2 separate regions of the Homo sapiens genome follow, and region 1 is linked to region 2. Evidence: promoter capture Hi-C in 16 types of primary human blood cells and fetal thymus (Javierre and others, 2016). All regions are on one chromosome and are shown on one strand. The core of a region is centred on a gene start or on the middle of the fragment in contact, and the rest is flanking DNA. Distances in the headings are between cores, read along the strand shown. Region 1 overlaps TRAPPC10 (trafficking protein particle complex subunit 10). Region 2 holds the start of AATBC (apoptosis associated transcript in bladder cancer).

Region 1 (6,316 bases), core at 2,781-5,280, 290 kb after region 2:
GTGGAGGTTGCAGTGAGCCGAGATCCTATCACTGCACTCCAGCCTGGGCGACAAAGCGAGACTCCATTTCAAAAAGAAAAAAAAATTAAGCTACTTTTTAATGATCTCATATGATATAAAACTTATGGTATCATAAAAAGTTAAAGATTTACCAATTTTGTACAATCTTCTGCTGGGACAAGGCCAGGCAAAGGGAGTCAGGGCAGGGACAGGTGCTGTGGGGCCTAAAGCAGCATGCATAGGCGTGCTGTGAGGCGGGGCCTGCCCATGGTGTCTGCTCAGCACCCTTCGCATGGCGTGTGTTTCGCTGCAGTGTCTGTGTCCTCTTTGCGGTTATGGTGCTGTGTGAGCAGTGACCCCCAACTCTCTTTCCAGCCCATCTACAGCAAGCAGTCGGTGTTCTTCGTCTGGGAACTCAAGTGGACAGAAGAGCCTCCCCCTTCTCTGCATTGCCGGTTCTCTGTTGGATTTTCCCCAGCTTCTGAGGAACAGCTGTCTATCTCCTTAAAGCCGTATACTTATGAATTTAAAGTGGAAAATTTTTTTGTAAGTGATGTATTATTTTGGGAGGGTGGGGGTGAAAAAATGAAAGATGGCATTATGTTCTTTATAATCTGAAGAACTGAATAGACAGCTTCTGTCAACATAATGAAGGAGCAGCTGGAGAAAAACAGTTGTTGGGGTAGTTGAATCATTGACTGTCTTTATTTTAGAACCCCAGGTCCTTCTCAAGTGACACATCTGAGATGCCCACACTCCTGGGGGCATCTCTAAGAGGAGTGTTTGTCATTTGGAAAGCCCAAAGATTCCTTTTTTCTTCTATCTTTTTCCCTTTCTCATGTTGACTTAGTAACTCCCTGGAAATATTTCTTGGAGTCATTTCATCTTCAGGGGCATTGCTTTCTAAGGCATATCTCTAGTTTTTCAAAGAAAAGCTGAAAACATATGAAAACCTGCTAGCTGAGTATTGTGAAGATTTTCTTAGAACTTGTGCATCATTTGGTAGAAGCCAATTTGAGTGTGGAATGAAGAGTAGCCTTGAGCTAGGTGAGTAGATACAGGTGTGTGCTGTGTTCCTTTAGGGAGATGATTTGACTTAATGTTTTGCAATTTTGTGATACTTTCTTTTCTTCTCTTTACTATTTGAAATTATCAAACAATGTTTATTTGAAGTGTTTGTCTTTATAGTTTTGATATTAGCAGTTTTTTTCTATCTTCTTCCATCCAAGACAAATTGTTTTGACCTTCATGTTTTATATAACTCTCCTTAAATAAATTTAAATGAATAAATAAAACCACAAATTATTAAATAATTTAATTAAATCAAATAATAGTATATATTATAATAATAATTTATATATAAACAAATTATTTATTTATGAGACAAGGTCTCACTCTGTTGCCCAGGCTGGAGTGCAGTGGCACAATCATAGCTCACTGCAGCCTGGACCTTCTGGGCTCATTATCTTCCCACCTCAGCCTGCCAAGTAGCTGGGACCACAGGCACGTGTCACCACACCTGGCTAATTATTTTTATTTTATTTTATTTATTTATTTATTTATTTATTTATTTTCGAGACGGAGTTTCACACTTGTTGCCCAGGCTGGAGTGCAATGGCACGATCTCGGCTCACCACAACCTCTGCCTCCCAGGTTCAAGCGATTCTCCTGCCTCAGCCTCCTGCGTAGCTGGGATTACAGGCATGCACCACCACGCCTGGCTAATTTTTTGTAGAGGCGGTGTTTCTCCATGTTGATCAGGCTGGTCTCAAACTCTCTACCTCAGGTGATCCACCTACCTTGGCCTCCCAAAGTGCTGGGATTACAGGTGTGAGCCACTGTGCCCGGCTAAAGTATGGGTTTTTTTTTGTTTTTTGTTTTGTTTTGTTTTTTTGAGACAGAGACTCGCTGTGTCGCCCAGGCTGGAGTGCAGTGGCGCGATCTCGGCTCACTGCAACCTCCGCCCCTCTAGGTTTAAGCAATTATCTGCCTCAGTCTCCGGAGTAGCTGGGATAACAGGCATGTGCTGTGCCACCACGCCTGGCTAATTTTTTGTATTTTTAGTAGAGATGGGGTTTCACCATCTTGGCCAGGCTGGTCTTGAACTCCTGACCTCATGATCCACCCCGCTTGGCCTCCCAGAGTGCTGGGATAACAAGCATGAGCCGCCGTGCCTGGCCCAAAGTACGGGTTTGTATGTTGCTGTATCTATTCAATTCTCCTGGTAAAGACCTGAGTGGAATTTCTGGGTCATAGGGTAACTCTGTGGTTAGCTTTTTGAGCAACTGCCAACTTTTTCCAGAGGGCTCTACATTCCCACCAGCAACATAGTGGATTCCAGCTGGGACCCAGAGAGTCCCAGCTTCTGTGTGTCCTGCCAGCACTTGTCTCACTGTGTTTTTGGTTGTGGCTGTCCCAATTGGCAGGCGTTTCCCCAGTGGCTGGTGATGTGCTGCGGCTCGTGGGCGTGTGGCCCATTTTTCTGCCTTCTTTGGAAGGATGTCTGTTCAGATCCTTTCCCCATGTTTAAATAGGGTTATTTGTTTTTTATTATTGAATTGTAAGTTCTTTATATATCCTAGGTACCAGGTCCTTATATATGATTTGCAAGTATTTTCTTCCATTTGTTGTCTTTTGAAGCACCAAAGTTAAATTTTGATGAAATCCAATTCAACTCTCTCTTTTATTGCTTAAATTTTTTGCTTTGGACCTAGAAAATCATTGCCTTTGGTCAAAAAGATTTTCTCTTGCATTTCCTTCCAAGATGTTCGTAATTTGAGCACTTGCATTTAGGTCTGTGATCTACTTTGACTTAATTTCTGTGTATGGTGAGAGGTAGGGTCCAAATTTGTTCTTTTCAAATGACCCAGCAGGTGTCCCTATCCCATCTGTCATGACGATGCTTTCCTCCCTGCAGGGTGGCCCTGGCCCCCTTGCCAGATTCCAGCTGGCCGTCAGTGCTCGCGTGTCTCTCTGAAGAGGCTCTGCGGTTCTGGTCCCTGTGCCTGAGCTCCAGGTGCCGCCAGGTGAGGCCCCTGCTGCTCGCCTTGGGCTGTGCTTTCCCCCAGCCACTCTCCTTCCCAGATGCAGCCCAGAGCAGCGTTCAGGCACACGCAGGTCTCATCACACCCCACTGTGTCCTACTGCAACTCTGGGTGTCCTTCAAGCCCTGAGGCAAATCTGCATTCTTTGCTGGATTCAGAAACATTCAGACTGTGCCCCAGCCAGAAGCTTCTGAGGAGGAGGTATTTCAGTGGGCCTCTAGCACAGTGTTCTACTGCTTCAGTTCCCAGGACCTACGGGCACCCGGGCCCACGGCTGGCACTTTTGCATCTGTGTATTTGGGATCTTTTCTGCCCTGTGGCTTGAGAGCCCCAGGAAGTCCCAGCATGGCCCCTCTTGAGACTGGTGGGAGTTTGTCCCATGTCCGAACAGAGGTAATTGGGCATTTGGTAGGAGATCACCTAGAAAGGCCGCTCTTGGGACTGCTGTTTAGGCTGTGAACTCCCATAAAACGGCTTCATCTTGGCCTCAGACTCCAGACAAATGCTTCTTAATATACTGAAATCTCTTCTTTGAACATTTTACAATGCCAATAGAACACTTTTTAAGTCAAGCTATACTGTATTACACACGCTCGCGCGCACACACAACGCTTCCCCTCAGAAGTGGAACTGCCAGGTTGTAGTGCATGAGCCCTTTTTCATCTTGGCAGTGGCAGATGTGTTTTGATCGTTTGTCATGGGTGGTGGTAGAATGTTAAGCATGTTTGAATAGCCACCGAGAATAGGTTGATTATGGAAAGAAAACACGGACAAAGTAGATTATGGACTGAATTGGGTTATACCAAGGAATTCCTGTTGCTTTTGCTAGTTGTAATAATAGCATTGTGTTTTGGTAAGAAAAAGGCCTTAGTGTTTAGTAATGCATACTGAAGCAGATGGGGCAAAATAACAGGTTGTCTGAAATTTGCTTTATTTTTTTATTTTATTTTATTTTTTTAGACAAGAGTCTTGCTCTGTCACCCAGGCTACAGTGCAGTGGTGCGATCTCAGCTCACTGCAACCTTTGCCTCTTGGGTTCAAGGGAATCTCCTGCTAAGTAATCCAAGTAGCTGGGATTACAGGCACCTGCCACTGTACCCGGCTAATTTTTGTATTTTTAGTAGAGACGGGGTTTCACCATGTTGCCCAGGCTGGTCTCGAACTCCTGACCTCAAGTGATCTGCCCACCTCGGCCTCCCAAAGTGCTGGGATTACAGGCGTGAGCCACCATGCCTGGCCTGAAATTCGCTTTAAATTACCTCAGGCAAATACAGAAATGTCCATGGCTTGATAAGAGGATGCTGAGGCAGCAAGATGCTGAGATCTCAGGATCTGGGTGATAGGCGGCTGGAAGGGCTCTGTGCTATCCTTTCTTCCTGTGGTTGAAAATGTTCATAATTTAAAGAAGGATGTTAAGGTTCGGAGTGTAGGACTTCCGAAAACATTGCATCTCCAGTGGGAATTATTGAGAGTGAGTGGCGACAGTTGCTCTAAGGCCAGCCGAGCAGATAGGTGTCTATCCTCAGCTCTCCAGGGTCTGTGGGCAGCTCTGCTTTTTCCTCTAGTTGCATTTCTTGAGGCCACTTAGGTACATTTCCTTTCTATTCTCTCCCTTTCCTGCCCAGACATTATACAACGTGAAGGCTGAGATCTTTCCCCCTTCGGGAATGGAGTATTGCAGAACAGGCTCCCTCTGCTCCCTGGAGGTTTTGATCACGAGGCTCTCAGACCTCTTGGAGGTGGATAAAGATGAAGCACTGACTGAATCTGATGAGCATTTTTCGACAAAGCTTATGTATGAAGGTAGGTGGTCTCGAACCCATGGGCTCAAGCAGTCCTCCCGCCTTGGCCTCCCAGAGTGTTGGGATTACAGGTGTGAGGCACTGCACTCAGCCTATCTTGCATTTTGAATGGCTCTTTTACCCAGGCATCATAGCGTTACACCCTGTGCCATTAGTCATGTGGGAAACATGGTTTCCTGAGTTGTGCAGATCTTCCAAATGTGGGCACCTTTCGTTTGACAATATTTTTTTAAAATCTGCATTTGTGATCTCTCAGGGAGGGCTTGGAGCATCAGAACTCTTTCAAGCTCACAGTGGCAAGTGTAAGTTTTCCAAAATTCTGATTTTTGCTTAAAGTCTCAGATGGCATCATTGGCAGCAAATAGTCGTGTTGTTTTCTTTGAAGTGACAGGCTTACATCATTCATTTTTAATCAGACGTCTACCAAATACCCAACACTGAATAACTAGCTTCCCCAGCGCTCTTGCAAGTGAAAAGGGCGTTCTGTGAAAACAGCGGCTATTTCAGCTCGCAGCACCGAGCGCTCCCCGTGTGCTTTCCCTGAGCCAGCTGTCATTCTGCAGCAGAGACCCAGAGAATGTCAAGAACACAAGCACTCAAGAATGGAAATAACTCAAACGTCCTTCAGCTCGAGAGCGGTTAAACTGGCACATCTGATTCCTCCTCAGCAGTGAAACAGAAGGGACTGTTGACACACGCAGTGCTGTGGTTGGATCTCAAGGGCATTATACTAAGAGAAAAACGCCAGTCCTATAAGGAGGTGTACTGTGTGATTCCATTTCTAAATGACATCCTCAAAATGCCAGCCTCAGAAGGAGAGCGGGTCAGTGTTCCACGGAGCAGTGGGAGGCAGCAGGAGGCCGTCCTCTGTGGTAATGGAGAGTTCTGGGCCAGGGCCGCTGTGGTTGTTACACGAATCTACACATGTGACAAATGCCATAGAATTAGACCCAAAGAATGCCTGCGAAAGCTGCTGAAATCCAGTGGGGTCTGCAGCCTGGTTCACTCTGTAGTGAAATCCAGTGGGGTCTGCAGCCTGGTTCTATCTGTATTGAAATCCAGTGGGGTCTGCAGCCTGGTCCACTCTGTAGTGAAATCCAGTGTGGTCTGCAGCCTGGTTCTATCTGTATTGAAATCCAGTGGGGTCTGCAGCCTGGTCCACTCTGTAGTGAAATCCAGTGGGGTCTGCAGCCTGGTTCTAGCTGTATTGAAATCCAGTGGGGTCTGCAGCCTGGTCCACTCTGTAGTGAAATCCAGTGGGGTCTGCAGCCTGGTTCTATCTGTATTGAAATCCAGTGGGGTCTGCAGCCTGGTTCACTCTGTAGTGAAATCCAGTGGGGTCTGCAGCCTGGGTCACTGTATGGTACCAGTGTCAGCTTCCTGTGTTACACGAGATGGCACAGTTGGGTGAAGCTGGTGATGAAGGTATGTGACCCCTCTACTACTTTTACAACTTCTTGTGAGTCTATA
Region 2 (6,190 bases), core at 1-2,500:
GGCCAGAGGTCGGGAGGGGACAGAGGGAGCCACATAGGAGCCTCTACCAGCCCCTTTCTTACCACGGGGTGGGGGCGCTTCCCTCCCACAGGGTCTCAGGCTTGTGGGCTCCCCCCAGCTGCCCAGGCCCCAGAGGGCACTTCTGACCCTTCTCTTTGGGGTCTGCCCTGGGGGGCTCCAGGCCACTTGCTCCACCCCATCCCTCTTCTGGAGCCTCCCAGCACCTCAGTTCCGACTGTGGGGAAAACAGAACCCTAGGAAGCAACCTCACGGCTGTGGGCAGGGGAGGGCGGCCGGGAGCCCCAGCTGCCCCACAGGGACATTGAGTGAAGGCAGAGCCTGGGAGGGAAGTCAGATCCGTGCATGGGTCCCTTCCTGTTGGTGTTGGCGTCCCTGAGTGAGCAGCCATCCGCCGCCCCCTGGAAAGAGACCTGGAGAAGCAGCTTCAAGCTTTGGAGCCCAGCCCAGCTGCTAGCAGCCCCTGGGTCACAGTGCGAAGGGGGAAGGCAGGGGCTTGAGGAAGAAAGTGAGAGGATTGTGCCTGGGGGCCCCTGGAGGGCCAGTCTGGAGGCGCGTTGGGGTGAGGCGGTGCTGGCTGTGCCCGTCTGAGATGGGCAGAGGGAAGGCGCCCAGGGCTGAGCCCAGGGTCCCCAGGCCAGTCCCTCACTGCTCTGGGGTTCAGTTTCCTCACCTGCACAAAGGGCGGGTCCCGTGCTCTCCGGAGGCCACACGGGGTCTCCCTGAGGCACTGAGTCTGGCTTGTTTCTGGAAACTGAGGCACAGGAGGACGTTGATAACCGGCCTTCCTCTGTTCTCTTTCCCAGGGGTGCAGCTCGTCCGTCCCATGGTTTCAGATTTGCCCGGTGTGTTGCAACCACCACCTGGCACTCAGCTTGCCCGGTGCCGCCTGGCCCCGCAGCCTTTCCCAGGCCTTGCAAGGGTGGCACAGATGGGGAAACTCCATCTGCAGGGGCGTCACCCCCGAGGGATGTGTCCTCCACACTCCCTTGATGGTCACGTGGGTCCCGGGAGGGCGCGTGTGACTCTTCCCAGGATTGCAGCGTTGGGGCGTTGTGCCAGCCTGGCCCCGTGGGTGCGGAGTGCCGTGGACCCCTCGGCCCTCCTGACCTTGTTTCCCTTTGATGTAGAAGTCTGCATGGCATGAATTCCAGTGACAATGGGCCGGGCCAGGCTCCCTGTGCCCCTGGTACCGCTGCCCAGGGCCGGTCTCTGCAGTCACCCTCCTTCCTTCCTGGTGGCTCCTCCCTCCCTCCTTTGTTCTTCTTTCTTTTCCTGCCTAAATGTTTATCGAGTCCCTCCTGCATTAAGTACCCGTGCTGTGCAACAAATTACCTTGAACTTGGTGACTTCACCACCACTGCATGTCAGCGCCCAGCCGTAGACGAGGGTTTGGGAGGCATGGCTGGGCCTGCCCAGGGCTCCCTGGCTGAAGTGGGTGCTGAAGCTGCCAGGCACTGGAGGCTGGGCCTCTCGCACACTCCCTGGCTGTTGGGAGGGTGCATTCTTCTTTCTTCCTTGTCTTCTAGAGGATGCACTCTTGGCTGTAGGCCTCCCGTTTCTCTCACGGGCTATTCCTGGGGTTCCCTCAGATCCTGGAGGTGCCCACAGCCCCCTTCCCCGAGGCTCCCCCCCCCACACACTTTGCTTCTTCAGTGCCAGCAGGAGAAATTCTCCCTCATCAGCTTCCTCAGAGAAGGGCTCACCTGGTCAGGTCAGGCCCCGCACTCGGGCAGGCACAGCAGGGCGCACCCCATGACGCACCCAGAACCCGCCCCCACAGCCCCGGAGTCCTGGCCGCTGTCCCCAGCCCTACGCCCCTCTCAGAGCTTGAGCCAGGGGCAGCGCAATGGGCAGCTCCTTCCCTCTCCTGTCCCTGGAAAACTGCTCTGGGTGATTTGGCGGAGAGTGAGAGGATTCGAAAACGCTGGTACGTGGCAGGGGCTGGCAGATTCCAAAAGTGGCCCCAGACTCCCTGGACACCCAGACCATCCACCTGGTGCCACAGTACCTGATTCCCATGGCCAGGGCATTGGGGAGCCAGGCAGGGGCAGGGGAGGGGCGTTCCAGGTCCTCCCTCCTTGCCTTGACCTACATCCCAGGTGACCCAGCGAGGCCCAGGCCCCCGCCCAGTCTGCCCCGCCTCACAGTCAGGCTTCATCCTCATCCCCAGCAGCCCCTGGGCCCCCCATGTCACCCTCAGGGCACTTGAGGGCAGGGTCAGGCCAGACCAAGTGTGGGGCCTGGCCAGGAGCAGGTGGTGCCGGGGAATGAGTATAGGGCTTATGGTGCCGTGGCCTGTCTGCTGCCTGGTCTGTCCTAAGGCCAGTGGCCCTGTCCCTAGGCTGTGGGGCACAGGTCCCATTCCCCGGGGGAGTGAAGGGCTCAGGCAGCAGGCAGCCCCGTCCCCTCCCCTAGGGTGTGCCTGGGTGACTCCTGGGCTGGCCGACTGGGAGCTAGCCTGAGTGTAGGTTTTGAGTCTGAGCACCAGGTCCTCACCCTGCCCCTGGCACCCCTTGGGCACCTCCTGGCACCCTGTCTGCTTTGTGCCACTTGCCCTGGGGTCTGTCCCTCCCTTGGACAGACAACAGTGTCCTACTTTTTTTTTTTTTTTTTGAGAGAGAGAGTCTCGCTCTGTCGCCCAGGCTGGAGTGCAATGGCATGATCTCGGCTCACTGCAACCTCCACCTCCTGGGTTCAAGCGATTCTCCTGCCTCAGCCTCCTGAGTAGCTGGGATTACAGGCACACGCCACCATGCCCAGCTAATTTTTATATTTTTAGTAGAGACGGTTTCACCACGTTGGCCAGGCTGGTCTCCAACTCCTGACCTCATGATCTGCCCGCCTTGGCCTCCCAAAGTGCTGGGACTACAGGCGTGAGCCACTGCGCCCGACCCATAATGTCCTACTCTTGCCTGAAGGCTCTGAGCCGTTCGGGTCTCCTGGACACGGAGAAGCCACAGCCCAGTGCCACCTGTCCTTTTCTCTCCGCTGCTCACAGGGGCCGAGGTCTGCACACCCATGGCTGCCCCAGGCTGCCCGCCAGGAGCTGCCTTTTCCCTGGCCAGGCTGTTTCTCAGCCCTGCGGTTCCCAAGGAAACGGGCTTCCAGGCAAGCCCGGGTGGAGTTCACTTTTCTCCCAATTGGAATTCGGCTGAATTGAATCCAGCCTCTGCTCCCCTCACCTCCGCATCCTGAATTTCTGCTCCCAGCTCCCTCGGCCTGGGTCAGGTTGGGTGGGTGGTGACACCGTATTCTGGCCCTTGGGGTTTAGGTCAGAGGTGCTGGGGCCTGTGTGGGGTGATCATGGCACTCTGCGGAGAGGGAGGGAGCCAGGCCAGGAGGTCGGCTTGGCTGGAGACAGCCTGGTCCCACTGGGAGCCCTGGAGCACCTGGAGTTGGGCTGGCTGGGGCAGGAAGGTTGTCTTTTGGGCACCCCTCCAACCCGTCAATCAGCCGTGGGCTGCCCTTCCATTGAGATGTGGGGAAAACCTTGATGAGGTTTGTTCAAGGTGAATGTTCGTGAGGTGTGAGCCACTGCGCCTGGCACATGATGTCCTACTCCTGCCTCTCGCCTCAGGCAAGGGTCCGCAACAGCCGGGCTCAGCCTCTGTTTTGGAGGGAGGAAGGAAGGAAGCAGGAAGACTACCTGAAGCCCCCAGTAAGTGCAGTGGAGAAGATAGAGCAAGGTGAAGGGTTGGCCGTGTGGAGGGCGAGTGTGCGGTCAGGGGAGGGCTTCTTTGGGCAAATATTTGACAGAGGCAAAGCCGGGAGCCAAGTGGATATTTGGGGCAGAGTGGGGTTGGCGGCAGGAGTAGCCAGTGCCAAGGCCCTGCAGGGGTGCACGGGTGTGTAGACCGGTGAGAGGGCGTGGCAGCAGGGGAAAGGGGGGTGGGCGGGGGGGAGGGGGGGCGACCGGTGAGAGGGCGTGGCTGCAGGGGAAAGGTGGGTGGGCGGGGCGGGAGGCGACCGGTGAGAGGGCGTGGCTGCAGGGGAAAGGTGGGTGGGCGGGGCGGGAGGCGGCCGGTGAGGGGGCGTGGCTGCAGGGGAAAGGGGGGTGGGCGGGGCAGGGGGGCGGCGGGGAGAACAAGTGGCCCCATCCTTTGAGGCCGCTGTGTGAGTCTGCTCTGGTGGCCGTGACAAAGGACCACAGGCTGGGGCTTCAGCAACCCACATAGATTCTCCCACAGTCCCGGAGGCTGGGGCCCGAGGCCAGGGTGCAGTGGGGCTGGCTCCTGAGGCCTCTCTCCTGGGCTGGCACCTGGCGCCTCCTCCCCGTGTCCTCACAGGGCCGTTTTCCTGTGTGTCTGTGTCCTCATTGCCTCTTATAAAAACACAGGTAGGTTGGGTGGGGTCCACCCAAATAGCCTTATTTTAACTTAAAAAACTTTTCATGTTCTGGCTTCTCAATTATTTTTTTTTAATTAAGGTATTTGTGACACTTAAAGATCATATATTTAAGATACAATTTGCTGATTTACAATCTAATTTTAATCTAATCTCCTCTCTTAAGACCCTACCTCCAAATACAGTCACAGCTGGGATCCTGGGGGAGTTAAGACTCCCACGTTCGGATTTTTGAGGGACACAGTTTGGCCCGTGACAGTCCCTTGCTGTCTGAGGGACACAGTTCGGCCCGTGACAGTCTCTGCTGTCTGAGGGACACCGACCCCCTGTGCGTTTCCTGTCTCCAGCTGCCTGTGTCGGTCACACATGTTATTCTCACGCGCTGGCCCTGGTCACCTGGTCCCCTCCGCACCCTGGGCACATGCCGGCCTTGGTCACCAGGTCCCTTCCGCACCCTGGGCCGTGCCGCACTTGGGTGGCATTTTGGGTGGAGCAGCCCCGGCCCCTGCCTCCCTCTCCTGCTGAGGGTTAACGGGGCCTGATCTCTGGGTGAGCTGCTGTGCCCTGTGCACTTCCGCCTCCAGGACCCTCAGCCACCACCAGGGCACAGCCCAGCTCAGCCAGGTGGTGAACGGACACAGGAGCTACTGGGGAGATTTGGCCCCAGGTCAGGTCCTGGCCTTGGGCGTGTGGCCCTTGTGGGGCCAGAAAACCTGTCCCTACCGCCCAGCAGGTGCTAGGGGATGACATAGCCCCTCCTGGACATAGGCCCTCCTGCCACTCTCCCCCTGACCAGGAAGTCACCCCCAACTGCCCCTCTGACACTTTCCCTGTGAGAGGCAACCAGGCACCCCACAAAGCCTGCTGTGGGTTCTCCCAGACCCAGGCTGGAGGGACTGACCCATCAGCCACCTCCCCTCCACCCCTCCCCAACCCCCCTGGCCCCAGACAGCCTCTGTCCACGAGGGGTGTGCCCCCGGAGCTGGCCACAGCCCCAGCAGGGACGGCAGCTCTGTGGGGCTGGTGGGGGGTGCCTCTGCAGGGCACAGGTGGACAAGAGGCCTCTCCTGCATGGCCTGCAGGAGGCCCAGCCTAGGAGGAGGGCTGAGGGCACCAAACGAGGCAAAGCCTGGGGGACCATGGTTGGGGTGGCCAAGGAAAGAAGGGGGGCAGCAGAGAGCGCCATCTGCTGCAGGCTGAGCTCAGGACGGAGGTCTGGGCACACTTGGCTTGGGGCAGGTGGCCGCCTTGTGTGGGTCGAGGAGGTGCAACCTGACCTGTGACCCAGTCCCTGGTTCTGAGGTCACAGCGAGGCCACTGGAGACCTCAACTGGCCGGGCCGTTCGCCGTGCAGGGTGGCTGCAGAGACCCGCTCAGCAGGTGCCCACTGTCACCCGGCCGGAACCAGCAGGCAGGCGTGGCAGGACAGACCACAGGGAGGATGCTGGAGGGGCCAGGGAAGCACATTTAGCACACTTGGGGCTGCCTGTGGTCTGACGCCCCAGAGGGTGACACCTTTCGAGGCTCGAAGGCAGCTCAGGGCAGCTCCTCCCACACAAAGGCCTCCTCTGGGCTGTGAGGGTCAGTGTTTCTCCTGGGGCCCAGCCCTGGGGCCTCTTTGCATGCCCTCTGGGTGCCGGCTCAGGAGGGCACTGGCCCCAGGCCTGGCTCCGCCCCAGAAACCGGGTGGCTGTGTGTTAGCTGGGCAGTGGCTTCTGAGGGGCTGTACCAGGAGGCTCAGTGGGCATCCCCAGGGCTTCTCCTCAGTGCTGTGGTCCCACCCTAGACTGGGTAGCCAGCCTGGCGCCCTCCTCCCACATAGTGT

Evidence for each region. Contacts are between HindIII fragments. The CHiCAGO score rates a contact against its expected background, and 5 or more counts as called.
Region 1: a contact is called between a fragment that was not itself captured here and the fragment with the promoter of AATBC in region 2, in 1 of 17 cell types (endothelial precursors). The highest score is 7.1, in endothelial precursors.

Annotation. Positions count from the first base shown.
Region 1 is chr21:44,093,688-44,100,003 of GRCh38, forward strand. It overlaps TRAPPC10 (trafficking protein particle complex subunit 10), which reads left to right. Exons shown (of 23, transcript NM_003274.5): 20 at 376-546; 21 at 4,670-4,847. Among named protein-coding and RNA genes, the nearest start is that of PWP2, 11 kb to the right of the region's middle. The HindIII fragment of the contact is 1,603 bases long and covers 3,230-4,832 here.
Region 2 is chr21:43,811,317-43,817,506 of GRCh38, forward strand. It overlaps AATBC (apoptosis associated transcript in bladder cancer), which reads right to left and starts at 1,251. Exons shown (of 2, transcript NR_026961.1): 1 at 1-1,251. LOC124905033 (a long non-coding RNA gene) reads left to right here and starts at 1,356. Exons shown (of 2, transcript XR_007067897.1): 1 at 1,356-3,679. The HindIII fragment of the contact is 6,406 bases long and covers 449-6,190 here.